Regions from separate parts of the Homo sapiens genome. Here regions 1, 3 and 4 are each linked to region 2. Evidence: promoter capture Hi-C in 16 types of primary human blood cells and fetal thymus (Javierre and others, 2016). All regions are on one chromosome and are shown on one strand. The core of a region is centred on a gene start or on the middle of the fragment in contact, and the rest is flanking DNA. Distances in the headings are between cores, read along the strand shown.

What was found. The method cuts DNA at HindIII sites, captures the fragments that hold promoters and counts their contacts. A CHiCAGO score of 5 or more calls a contact.
Region 1: a fragment that was not itself captured here is called in contact with the fragment with the promoter of NRIP1 in region 2 in 1 of 17 cell types (endothelial precursors); the score reaches 6.0 in endothelial precursors.
Region 3: a contact is called between a fragment that was not itself captured here and the fragment with the promoter of NRIP1 in region 2, in 1 of 17 cell types (megakaryocytes). The highest score is 5.9, in megakaryocytes.
Region 4: a fragment that was not itself captured here is called in contact with the fragment with the promoter of NRIP1 in region 2 in 4 of 17 cell types (megakaryocytes, M0 macrophages, M1 macrophages and 1 more); the score reaches 8.9 in megakaryocytes.

Annotation. Positions count from the first base shown.
Region 1 is chr21:14,877,501-14,880,545 of GRCh38, reverse strand. All of the region lies in intron 1 of ASMER1 (adipocyte associated metabolic related lncRNA 1), which reads left to right. Among named protein-coding and RNA genes, the nearest start is that of ASMER1, 40 kb to the left of the region's middle. RefSeq lists enhancers at 724-1,018, 2,427-2,496. The HindIII fragment of the contact is 2,858 bases long and covers 1-2,746 here.
Region 2 is chr21:15,063,318-15,066,668 of GRCh38, reverse strand. NRIP1 (nuclear receptor interacting protein 1) reads left to right here and starts at 1,669. Exons shown (of 4, transcript NM_003489.4): 1 at 1,669-1,924. RefSeq lists enhancers at 768-817, 3,268-3,317 and silencers at 1,148-1,327, 1,578-2,437. The HindIII fragment of the contact is 10,218 bases long and covers 1-3,351 here.
Region 3 is chr21:15,275,864-15,278,991 of GRCh38, reverse strand. It overlaps LOC105369292 (a long non-coding RNA gene), which reads left to right. Exons shown (of 4, transcript XR_937592.2): 3 at 3,113-3,128. Among named protein-coding and RNA genes, the nearest start is that of LINC02920, 210 kb to the right of the region's middle. The HindIII fragment of the contact is 1,125 bases long and covers 1,095-2,219 here.
Region 4 is chr21:14,861,669-14,865,004 of GRCh38, reverse strand. All of the region lies in intron 1 of ASMER1 (adipocyte associated metabolic related lncRNA 1), which reads left to right. Among named protein-coding and RNA genes, the nearest start is that of ASMER1, 55 kb to the left of the region's middle. RefSeq lists an enhancer at 278-327. The HindIII fragment of the contact is 3,251 bases long and covers 240-3,336 here.

The sequences.
Region 1 (3,045 bases), core at 68-2,567, 190 kb after region 2:
TGCCATCCTTTAGGATATACACTGAATCCCTTTTCTGTCAGGTTTCAGTCTATATTTCTAAAAAAGGACTTCCTTGAGAATGGTATTGGAGTTCACTTCCTCAAATAGATCAGAATTTATTGTTGGAGGCAGAAAAATTAGCTAAGTGTTACAATACTGTAAGATAGTTACTCTGGTGTTAGTCTTTGCACAGATTGCTGTGGAAGAGACACTTACATTCAGAGAGGCAAGGGGAGGTGAAGTGTGTAGGAAGAGAAGCACTGAGGCAGAGTACAGGGTCCCAGGGATGAAGGACAAGAGGATTATTTTAGGTGGCGGGATCAGAATGTGTAAGGCACAAAGGCATCAAAGAACATGGCAAAGACTCAGGGTTCTCCCGGCACTTTGTTCATAGTATTTGTAGTATAGTCCCCACATTGTTGTGTCCAGTTCATTGTATACAGATTTAGTACTATTTCTATCCTATGAGGACTTTGAGGGTACATATGCCCAGAACACAGACAGCATGGCAGCATGGTCCTTGCTATATAATAGCCTCTCATGAATTAACCTGTTTTGCAGGGGGGAAACAAAGAAAGATTTAATACAGAATTCAGTCAGACAGAAGGTTGGAAATAACTAGCTTGAATATCATGAACTGACTTAAAGATTAAAAAAAAGGAACATAAATATTCATGGGAAAAAGATGAATTGAAACCAGAAGTTTCTCATGAATGTCATACCAGCTTAAATGTCTGAGTAGTGTCCAAATGAAATGCAGTGACTTCCTTTTGGTCAACATCCTAATCAATATGATCAGGTCTCTCAAATTGTATCCCATACTTCGAAGTCACACTTTGATTCATAGGGAATTTCCATTCTTCCTTACAGCTGTTGAGAGGGGAGTTCTAACAAGAGGAAGTAGCTCTGTGCACCTTCCTCACTTCCTTCCTGGCTGTGTCATTCCTGGGTCTGGGTCACCAGCTGCATCCAGGAGTCCCAGAGGGTGTCGTGAATGTTACTCACAGTGTAAATGGATCTAGAACACAACTTACTTAGAGCCATATCTTCTAGTTTTGATTTGTGTTAGAAGTGATCACAAAGTCGTTTAAACTTAAATGACACTGTCGAAACTGACATCAGTGAAAAGTATTTATTATAAACGTGTTCATTGTATATCTTAATTTCAAGGCTCTTACCGTTTTCTGTGCTTAAGTATTCTCTAATGAGAATCTTTACAAAAATTATTAAGGTGGGAAGCAAGTGGTATTATTCGCATTTAGATAGATAAACGGTGACAAAGATGCTTTCTTAAAAAGTTTTTAAACAAATATTGAGTCACAGGTAGGACTTGTTTAAACAAGTGAAAGCATTTCCAATAAGTACACATTGAAAAAAACGGACACATGGGTTGCATGAAATAACAGCTTCATGTGATCATCTCAGGGAGTTTTCCTAAGCATGCTGATTGGATTGGGTTAGTATTCGGTCAATGGCTTTTCCATACTTTTAAAGTTTGCCATCATTACTTCAAGAAAGTGAGTCTTGTCACTATCATTAAATACTTATTTGGAGCTCTGTAGCTATTTATTTCACTTCTTGTTTGAGCTTTAACACTGTGAAGATCTCAGATATTTTCCATTCATTATTCATATGAGGTTCATTGGATATATTCATCCATTTCTTTATTTTCTCTGCATCTGATATGGTTTGGTTTTGTCCCCACCCAAATCTCATATTAAATTCCCACGTGTTGTGGTGGGTCGGGGGGACCTGGTGGGAGGTCTTTCCCATGCTGTTCTCATGATAGTAAATAAGTCTCACGAGATCCGATGGTTTTATAAGAGGAAGTTTCCCTGCCCAAGCATTTTTTTTTTTTTGCCTGTGCCATCCATATGAGACATGCCTATCACCTTCCACCATGATTGTGAGGCTTCCCCAGCCAAGTGGAACTGTAAGTCCACTAAACCTCTTTCTTTTGTAAATTGCCCAGTCTCAGATATGTCTTTATCAGCAGCAAAACGGACTAATACAGCATCCTCTACCATTTTCAGCAAACTCCTTTTTATTCTGTAGTACTTTATATCTCTGATTTAAATCACATTTGCTGTTCTTGAATTCCTGTTTGAGCAAAACAAATAAACAAACATAAATGGCGTAGAATTAGTTGAAGAAATTGCCTTAAGGTAAGGCTCCAAATCTGACTATTTTAAAATATCTTAGGTTTATCTCTTTTAGATATGCCAATCTCAGGGCAGAGGTAGGTGAGGAAAGAGCTTATATGACTGCCCCTTCTCTGAGATTCAAAAAACGAGAAAATAAATTCTGTTGTTCAATTCTAAGACAAGTGGAAAAGATCAAAGACTTTATTACAGTTTTTTTATTTTTATTGAGCAGATTCACTTGGAACTTTGGCTTGCATGTGGAATGTTTACCTTTTAATAAGTGATCTGTTTAAATGTGGATCAGAGAACAAGGGTTTCTGTTTTACAGTTCAACTTTTGACCTTGGGGGATGAATGGGTGGAGGCTAAGAGGAAAAGTCCACTGTGTTTCTGCTGAACTTTTTACCCTTAAGAAAAAAATGAGCAAGTTTAAAGTTCACACAGTGCACAAGAGGTCTCCGCTGGGGATTTCTCGTATTATTAACTTCCTGACCTCAGATAATTAAAAAGGAAGAGCAGAGCCACCTCAGACTGTGACTCAACTTTGAACTTTTAACCTCCCAAGTAAAGTATTTAAATTGTAAATGGTAGACCCTGGAAGCTTTCTTATTGCTATTAAATTCCTTCATCCTTGGTCACAAAGTTATAATCTAGGCCAAAAGCATAGCCTGATCTTTCCTTTTTATTTACTTAACCTCTTTTAACAGAAAGGACTGAGAACACTATTTACCTAGAAATGACAGGTATTCTGGTGAAAGAAGTTAAGCTTAAAGGGTCACTGAATTTTGGAGCTGGAAGCAACCATAGATTATCTGTCCACTTCCCTCAGTGTGGAAAGAGAATACTGAGAACCAATTGGTTGAGTGACTTCCTTAAGGTCAGATAGTTAACAGGAGAACAAA
Region 2 (3,351 bases), core at 420-2,919:
TTGGCACTATGTGCCCGGCACTGTGCTGGGTGCTGAATTTATTAAGCATTAATTTGAAAAATTGCTTTCACTTTCAAGACTGTGACAGTATTCTAAAACTCTCATTCATATTGTTTAAAGGTTAAGTGAAATTTGCAATACACAATACAGCCATTACATAACAGGCACAGAATACAGTTTCATGACTTGGATAGTTTTTGTTTTTTAAGCGCATTAGCAACTTCATTTCCAAATGCTATCAAATTCTTCAGGATATGAAAACCTACATATAAGAATGGAGTGCCTCATCGGCTCATTTGTCTTATGTAATAAGTGTTTTAACACGGGCATGCCGTTTCAGAATTTCGGGTGAGACTAAGCTGTACTTTAGCTTTTTTGTGTCAAGCAAAAACAATTTCAGCAACAACACTCGCTTCCCCTGGTAATTTTTTTCATGGCGAATTACTAAATGCTAGATGCTCAAGTCAAAAAGAAACCTGACATCTGGGGAGGTGTTGAGGGGGTGTTAATAGTTCTAGTGAGATGTCTGGGGAGCGTTGAGGATACGATTTTTCAAACAGCAAATACAAGGATAAGGGGAAATTATGGTTTCGTATGACTCTCTCCTCCTTCCACTTTCTCGTTTCACCAATCTGTGGCCCCCCCAATTTAGAGGCGGGTTCAGTGAGATTAGGCTGCAGGAAACCGAGAGGCTCCACCGCGCTGCCGCCCCGGCCTCGTGATGTAATTGTTATTTCTTATTCGGAGACCGAACCGAGGAGAGCTGCTGAAGAAGTAGCAGCCCTGCTCCTTTTCCCTTGTCTTGTTGGGTCAGATCCTTCCCGGGGATGATGCAGATTGGCTGACAGACTCCGCTGGAGACTTCGCAGTGACAAAGCAGCCGAGGATTAACCCTGCTCCTGGGTCCTACGTCTGTCCAGGGAGCTGAGCGGGGCGCTCCTCAGGTCTCCTTCCTAGTTTTCCTCCCAGAGTCGCTCCACACGAGTGCTGGGCGCCTACTACGTGCTGGGCGTGGGGTCAAAGTGACCCAGAGTTCGCGCCCGTGCCCCCCAACATTAAAGCAGGACACACAGATTACAAGGAGATAGAAATTGGGGGTGGGTGGGTGAAAGGGGGCCCAGAGAGCGCGTGTTGTGGGGTGAAGGGGAGGAGGTAGACGCTTAAGGCAGGCGGGGACCCTGGAGCGTCTGGGGCGCCCCGGCCCCCAGGCTGTGCCCAAACGGGAGCATTCGGCCTGGGTCCCAAGAGCGCTTTCCCCGGTCCCCAGGAGGAGCTGTCCAGGCGCCTGCAGCGGTCGCGGGCGGCTGGACAGAGCTGGGAGCCCGGGGGACGGCCCGGGCGCGCCGTGCAGCCCCTCTCTCGGGGACGCGGTCCTCTCGCTGCCTCCGGGTCTTGCAGCCCCGTCTGGGACACCCGGAGAGCAGGCGAGAAGGAAATCCACGAAACAGAGGGGGTTCCGCAGCTCCTGTGAGCCGCCCGGATCCGCGCGGCTTCCTCCTGACCGGGTGACAATGGGAGGGAGGGGGAGAAAAGGGTTAAGAAACTTGGCTGAAGAGCTGAATGGCGTGGGGCGGCGAGGGGAGGGACTGGGCCGCGGCGGACTCGGCGGCGGAGGGAGGAGCGCGGCTGCGGGCGGGCGGTGAGCGAGGCGCTCAAAGTCAGCCTCGCAGACATTGCAGCAGAGCCCCGAACTCGGGAGGCGGCGGCGGAGGAGGCGGCGGCGAGGCGCAGGGACGACCCGGCCCCACGCCCGCCCGCCACCCGCGCGCGCCCGTCCGCCCGTGGCCTCGCGTCCGCCGCTGCGCCGTGAGCGCCGCTGGTCGGAGGGAAGAGCTCGCCGGGGCGCCGGGCCAGGACGGGGCGGCAGGCGCCTTCGCGGACCGAGCCTGACGGAGCCGGAGGCTGGGAGCCGCGGCGGCCTGGGGTGAGTGACGGCCGCGGCCAGGGCGCCAGGAGTAGCGGCCGCCGGCGCCGCCGGAAACGGCCCGGGAGCGCGGCCCGCGTCGGCTCTCGCTTGGCTGGCAGGGCCGCGGGGGCGTCGGGGCGGCGGGGAGGGCGCGTTTCCGGGGAAATCCTGCCTCTGCTGCCTGGTTCGAGTCTCCGGGTTCTCGCGGGGGGCCGGGGCGGCGGGCCGGCAAGTTGTGGAGTGGCCCCGGGTCGGCCCGCCCGTCCGTGCCAGTTCTGGGCAAGGGGGCGGCCGTCGCGTGGCCCCTGAGCGGGGCCGGACTCGGGGGGCCGGGTCGGGGTTGCCCCCGCTCGCTTGCCCTCTCGGTCCCGAACCCCGGGCACCGCTCGCCTCGCCGCTCTCCGTCCTGCTGTCCAGCCGGATCCTGGGCGGCGCCTTTCGCCTGGGTGCCTCCCTGCTCCTTGCTCGCTGGATACCCGGCTGGGAAAGTGAATAGGAAAAGGGACAGCTCGCCCGGCCCCCACCCGACCCCGGGCCGCTCTGCCCGCACTCGCGGTCCCCTCCCGATGGCGAGGCTCACGGACCCGAGGCCTCAGCCATCATTTTACCAGGAGCCAGGGGCCGGCCCCCATTTAGGGTGAGCCCGGTGGAAGTCCGGGAGGCTGCCTTTTCTCCCTTCTTCTGTGTCCACCTTATTACGATTGAATATTGTTTTATGAAGGTTTCCGTGGATGTATTCTGCAGACCCTCCCATCCCTTCCAAAGTAGTTTCCCAATTTTGATCAGGAGTTGGTGTTCAGTCAGAAGGAACAAAGGAACCAACTGTGTCTTAGAGGCGGACAGGCTGGGAGTCTGTGACACATGTTGATCTCTGAAGCATTCCAGGAGTTTCTACCTTTTATCACGTCAATAATTGGCTGCTGAAGGTAGTAAAAGAAGTACGGAATGATAAGCACTTTTGCGTTTTAAAAATATTTTTTAATGGCACATTTTACTTTGGGGAAAAAAGACGTTCTTAGGCACAAGGATTTTTAAAAACCCAGTTGGTGGAACTGAGTTGGAGTTTGTTTCTGGTATTGTAAATGATTACATGTGGGATTGTGAAGGAAATTGTGTCCTTAGAGGAAGAGAAGCCATCTGTAGGTGTCCATAGTAAAAATGGTTGTCGGGTTATATGTGATGAATGCTCTTTCTGTTTCTTGGGGGAATTTGTGAAGCAAGGGGCTTCGGTAATTCATTCTTTAAAGTTATGAATTGCATTGAACCTGCTTATTAGTGAATCATAGGTTTAGTAAGTGGGTGGCATTATTCAGTGTTTAATCATCAGTTTTCCACCTTTGTTGAAGAGACAGTGAAATAATAGACTTTTTAAACAAATGGTGTTTCATCTGCCTGGCCCCTAAGTGTCGGTTGCCGCCTGGAGTATGTTGAAGTGTTTTTCACCT
Region 3 (3,128 bases), core at 408-2,907, 210 kb before region 2:
CATACTGAGACCTCATCCTTATTTTTTTTTTAAATAAAAAAACAGTTGAGTGCTATCAGTAACTGTTCACAAGCTTGGAGACAGTGGGTGACTAGGAAAACGTCCTTGTTCTTAGCCAACTCACCTTGAAAGAGGAGGAAACAAATTATAAACAAGTCATTGAGTAAATACTCCAAAAATCTTCAGGTAGAGAAAACCACTATACGTAAAATACAACACAGAGAATGAAAATGTTAACTTAAATGAAGTGCATCAAGAAAAAACCAAGAGCAATAAGTCACCCGGTAATGTCATTTGACCTGGCAACACCTCTGGTCCCATGATCCTGGCTGGAGAATGTCCTTTTGTTTTTTTCACCTAGTTAGTAATTTGACAAATCATCATTTTATCCCCAAGGTCCAACATCGAAAGCATTTCTTGGCCTGTCTTTTGGGCTTTCGCCTCCAAAAGCCTGCACTGCCGACTCTCAATTTTGCTTTCATTCCGATCTTATGTTTGCCACATTCTTCACCTACAAAGCGACCTCCTGATTTTTGACTCAGCTCACATGTGATTTGATTCTTGCAAAACCCTTTTGGAACTCAACTGTCTAAAGACCTAGAAATGTGTTTCTGTAGGACTGCAAAAAATTGCACTATGAATGGCAGCCTAATAGTTCTCTTAATGCAGAGCAGGGAAGTGTTTCTTTCTTCTACTGCCTCTCTTTGCTGGTACAGAAGACTCACGAAATCTCAACATGGTGTTTGGCCCTTTCCCACATGCGGTATGAAAAGACTTTAATTATTATTGAACTTTAGTCCCCAAGGGACTTGAAAGCATTTGAAAATTCATTTTACTAGCAAAATAAATCTTTTTGTATTCTTTTGGGTTTTATAACATTGATGTTAGATTTAATTAAAAGTGAAGAAATCCTAAAAATGATTCTAGCTAGTGGTTAATTTTATGTTTTTATACAATTACTATAACCTAATAGGTAGCTAGTTTTCTAAAATGTTAGATAACTAACATTTTAAGGCTGCAGCATAACTAATTTTCTGCACAGAAGATGCTAAATGCAAAGGCAAATGAGTGGAATCTTCAGAGCTTTATAAGCTTCCTACACACACAAGCCACTACGAATGCCCAGGCAGTGGCTAAGTGTTGCTCCTGGGCATGTCATCTGCTAATGGGCTTCCTAACCCTAAATTCTTCTCTGTGGTTCCACAGAGAAAATACTCATGATCTCATCTAGGTCTCCCTGTTGTGTCTTTGCCACAAAGTATATTTCCCCATATGGGGTTCTTTTCAAAATGCAAGCCACTACACACTTTCTTTTTACAAGTTGGATCCCAGGTCTATAACACTGTCTCCTGCTGTGTTGAACATATGTTCAGAGTCTTTCTACTTATTTTTCTTTCCCCACTTGCTTTCCCACTGGTTATTTCCCATACCAAATTGCTTGACAAAATGAAGTTAGTAACATTAGCTTGCATGTTTTTGTGAGCCAGGTCTTTTACATCCTAAAATATCCCATAACACAGAGAATAGCATGCTATGCATCTTATGCTTCAACAAATATCTGTTGAAAGAATAAATGGATGGCTCCTTTTTGTAACTTCTGTAAGTGACATTCAACCGATGTGACATTCTCTTTATTAAATAAATGTTTACACTCCATCAACTTATTACATATACTGATTAACAGAAGTGGGGCTTGGGAGTGACTCAATTAGCTAACCAGTTGTCCATAAGGATTGGAAAGGGAAACCAAAATAAGCCTGGAGACAAGTCATTTTCAATAAAGATGTCTTGAATGGAGATAAACTGGACTGATTTTACATCACAAAAAAATAGCAAAAAGTGCTTTAAGCAGGACAGGAAGTACAAGAATGGCAAATGAATGTATTGGCTTTTAAAAAATAAATAAATAAATTCAAGTCATCAAAAAGTTGTTCAGTAGTATGGTGAATCAGTTATTCAGCTGCAAAGGCACAGTTGAGGGAGAAGATAGATAGCATTGAAGGAGTTATTATTCAGAAAAAGATAATGTTTTTCACAAAAAACCTCCTTAAATAGAAAATAGTCATTATGAACATAATACTCTAATTTATGATATCAAAGATGAAGAGCAGTCAATATTTTCCATAATGTATTAAGGATGGGAAGGTTCTAAGCGCCCTTTGACCCATACCTGTGTCTCTCTCTGAAAAGCAAGACACAGAGAATCTTCCCTCTAAGCTTTCCTTTACAATTCATGAACATAAAATATTAGGTTCGATGCAAATTTATTAGGTTTACCAAATCAATTTTTTTTCCTAATATGTGCATAAAATACTTAATTAGAAAAAAATTGTAAAACATTCTTAAAATTAATATCATTAGAATGAATTTACACACTGAATATCCAGACCTGACCATGGGATGTCAACCAGGAAGTCCAAAGGTGAGCCTCAGTGCCCTTCCTTCATTGCCTGGTGATGGACAAGCTATCTTGGAATCCCGCATTTACTCCAGCTGCATTTCAAAACCAAATTCCCACAGGATGGGTGGCTCCCAGGAGAAGATGTTGCAATCTCCCATGGGCTCACTAGGTCTCCAGGAGCTGAGCTGTGACAGCTGGCACCTAACCTATTAGTAACTGAGTCCAAAACATCAAGCCCTCCACCTGAAGGGAAATTTGCATATCATACACTTACTCAAACATCGTTTGTTATTCCAGCCATGAACTCTGATCAGTTTTCTATAAAGGCAATCTGACAATACCTCCCCTCAGGCATTGGATAAGAACCCCTCGATCCTGTGCTAGGACGCCTCTCACACAAAGAGAAGACTGATAGAAATTGCAGAGTAAATTAATGCCCCCTGGGACAATTTTTGGCCATTGAGAGACAGATGCCAATGGGTGAATATTTCCCCTTTTTTTCCCTTTGAGCTGATGATCCCAAGACATGTGTCATACCACTCAGGCTGTTCCACAGTGTTGAGCAACTTGTCAGCCAACTTGTCAGTGACTAAATGGATAACTTATACTGGGTCATTTGCTCTCTTTCTGTGTATTTCTTTGCCCATCTCTTGTTCTTGCCCCCGTGAAATCACACTCCCAAATACACTGCTCAAACATCTCTGCTTTCAGGAAAACTAAGGCTAAC
Region 4 (3,336 bases), core at 616-3,115, 200 kb after region 2:
CTATGGAAAGTAAACAGGAACTGTTAAAAATGTACCTAGCACTTCTCAGGGGCTCCTGTTCTGGCTTGGTCCAACTCTGGTCATGCAGGCATTTTTCCTTTTAAGGACAATTAAGTCCTATCTTTGCAGGCCATAGTGTTACTCATGTTCGGGGAGGCCACAGAGCCGGGAAGAGGAGCCCTGAGCCCTGAGCAGGTTCAATGTCGCCCCCGTCAGGAGCACCGCTGCAATGGAAAGCTTCAGTTACCATCAAAGGGATGCAGTCAGGCCAGAGAGAGAACTGCTATTTTCAAATACAAATGAACAAAACTACAAAAATGACAGAGAAGTCTTTGTTCTCTGTCTAAATGTGAGCCCCAAACAAATCCTCCCTGATTTAATGTGAAGTTTCTGGCCTGACCCCGACACTCTCCCTGATGTGCCTTCTACACGTCTATGAGGCAGCACTGTCTGTAACAGTGTGTGTCAGGTGCAGGGACTTTTCCAGCTGTCTCATGACTGTTAGGCAACATTGCCTTTTCCTGGGACTTTCAGCTGGGCTGGCTATGGTCTTTTTAGATTTAGCTTTGGGAAGCTGCCCCCTGCTGGGCTTCGGTTGGTGTGAATGGCCTGGACTTAGGAAGGGGCACTGCTGTAGTTGGCCCTGAATGGACCCTGGACTTTGGAGCCTCCTGGATGACACAGTTGCTTACCCTCGTGTTATCAATCTGAAAAACCTCATCAAGTGATACATTTCCAATCTCCTGACTGTCCTGTGACTTATTTGATGGTATTAAGCAAAGCTCAGGTCAGAAGGATTGTCATAAAATTGTTGACTGGACTCTTTCTCAGGAAAAGTTTAGCATGTCCTGGCAACTTTTAGGCTCATACCACTAACTCTGAGAGGTCAAGGGTTTTATGTAGAATGGTAACCTTCTTAAAATTGAGGTTTTAATAAACAGAGCTACGCATAGCAGACTCATCCCTGGTCTTACAGAGAGGATGTCAAATGGCTGAACCATGTGCTTTCTCAAAGTCAGTGACAGCAGAGATGAGGAAGGGGTTGATGATGTAAGAGAGAGCTGGGACAAAGGCCAAGTCAATACCAAATGAGTTGTCATTCTCCCTATGCTTTTCATACACACCCAAGCGTTTCACTCGGGAGATACCAGAGCAAAAGGAAGATAAATGCTACATGTAGTTCGTTCTGATATAACTGTCACTAGCACATGGTGCACACGCTCCATGAGAACACTTCTGTTTCATTAATCATGCTCTTTTGAAAATGTGACTAAATGTAAGTGATGTCAATTTCCAGTGCTGCTTTTGCTTTATAAGTAGGCTTTGAGGATTTAACCATATTTGGTAGATGCTAATATTTCTGTGTTGGCCATGAGAAAGATTATTATAGTACACAATGTAGTAAAATATTTGTCTTATGTAAAGAGAGAAATAATCATTTTTATTTACATTCCTGTGCAACTCGGGTCAGTCTGCCCTAAGGAGTTTTATTTTCTAAAGAATAAGCCTAGGAAATGATTTCATCATAGATTCAAGTAACAGCGTGAAACAAACACAGCCTCGGGATTTTTGCTATGTGTAGTCCCCTTAATTTTCTAGAATAAGACAAAAGACTGTTGTAAATAATTTTGAATAAAACTCGGATTTGTTATTTAATTTTAAAGACCTCCCAGAGTTTGAGATAATCAAAACAAACTTATTTTGTGCTCAGATTAAGAGCAAAATAACAAAACTAATCTACTAGTGATAGACTTTTAAATGCAAATTTAAAACAAGATACATATCTTTCAAAGGATGATTTTCTTCTTGTCATAAAAGACAAATTACTGAAATGCCTTTAGAGATTTATATTTGTATATTGCATTTATAACAATGATAAATCTCAGTTAACAATAAAAGGTTAAATTATGTCTTAAATGTAGGAAAATATAGGAAAGGTAAGGATATTTTTATTTTTATTTTTTTTAAGGAGCAAATAGGGCAGAAATTAGAGTGGCCAGCAGGGGGCTTCTTTTAGGTTTCTTTCCCTTTCCCATAAATTAAAACCTAACCTAAAAATATAGTTTACTCTTTAGTTTTATAAATAAGGAATAAAGAGACAAACAATGGCTGCTAAATTTTCATTGCTTCCACTAGTTTAAACAAGACACGTTTTACTTCTCTTTAGTTAATTCCTCTCTCCTGCTTACTTCCCTTCCTACCACTATTTTTTCTCAAGACCTGTAAAGTGATCCCTGCAGTCTGGATTGGCCAGTGCTGCCTCTGCCTCCATCCTCAACCAAAGTTCTATCTTTGCAAACCTTCCAGGGAGGATTTTAATGATGAACTCCCCACCAAATAGAAATGAAAAGTAAATTAAGAGCAAAGAAGCATATTCTATATTGATGATTTAAATGGTAGTTATAAAAATCTAGTTGCACTCTGAACCTCCTTTTGAGAGGGACTTTCTGAAATCATGGGCTTGAGTGTAGTAGTATAATAGGCAGTGAATGGCCATGTAACATGACATTTTAAAAGAGTGCTGTGTTTTCCCAAGAATTTGAGAGTTTGTGAAAGACCTCCAGAACTAGTAGGCAGATTCTGACTCATTTTGTAATATAGCTCCAAATTATCTTTCTATCCTTTCTTACATGCATAAGAAGTGAATGTAAGAACCATAATTTTTACTTCCTTTTTGTGCCCATTTTATAAAGGTAGGCTCAAAACCTTAATGATAGAGCAGAGCAATTCACCAGAGAGTGAATTAGAGGCAAAATTGTGATAGTCTGTGTTATCCAAGTGAAATCTCAAGAGAAATTGAAACTGACATCATGTAACTTTTTAAAATAAGAATTAGGTCCTGACAGAAAAAAAAAAGTGGTATATCTATAACAATTTTTGAAGTTCCAAGTAAATAAAAAGCCAGGAATTCCAAGTTCAATATGTAAGACAAAAAATTATGTTAGGATTTTGTTTTAACATTGATATGGTTTGGCTGTGTCCCCATTCAAATCTCAACTTGAATTGTATCTCCCAGAATTCCCACATGTTGTGGGAGGGACCCAGGGGACGGTAATTGAATCATGGGAGCTGGTCTTTCCCGTGCTATCCATGATAGTGAATAAGCCTCACGAGATCTGATGGGTTTATCAGGGGTTTCCACTTTTGCTTCTTCCTCATTTTCTCTTGCTGCTGCCATGTAAGAAGTGCATTTCACCTCCTGCCATGATTCTGAGGCCTCCCCGGCCACATGGAGTTGTAAATTCAATTAAACCTCCTTTTCTTACCAGTCTTGGGTATGTCTTTATCAGCAGTGTGAAAATGGACTAATACAGTAAATTGGTACTGAGAGTGGGG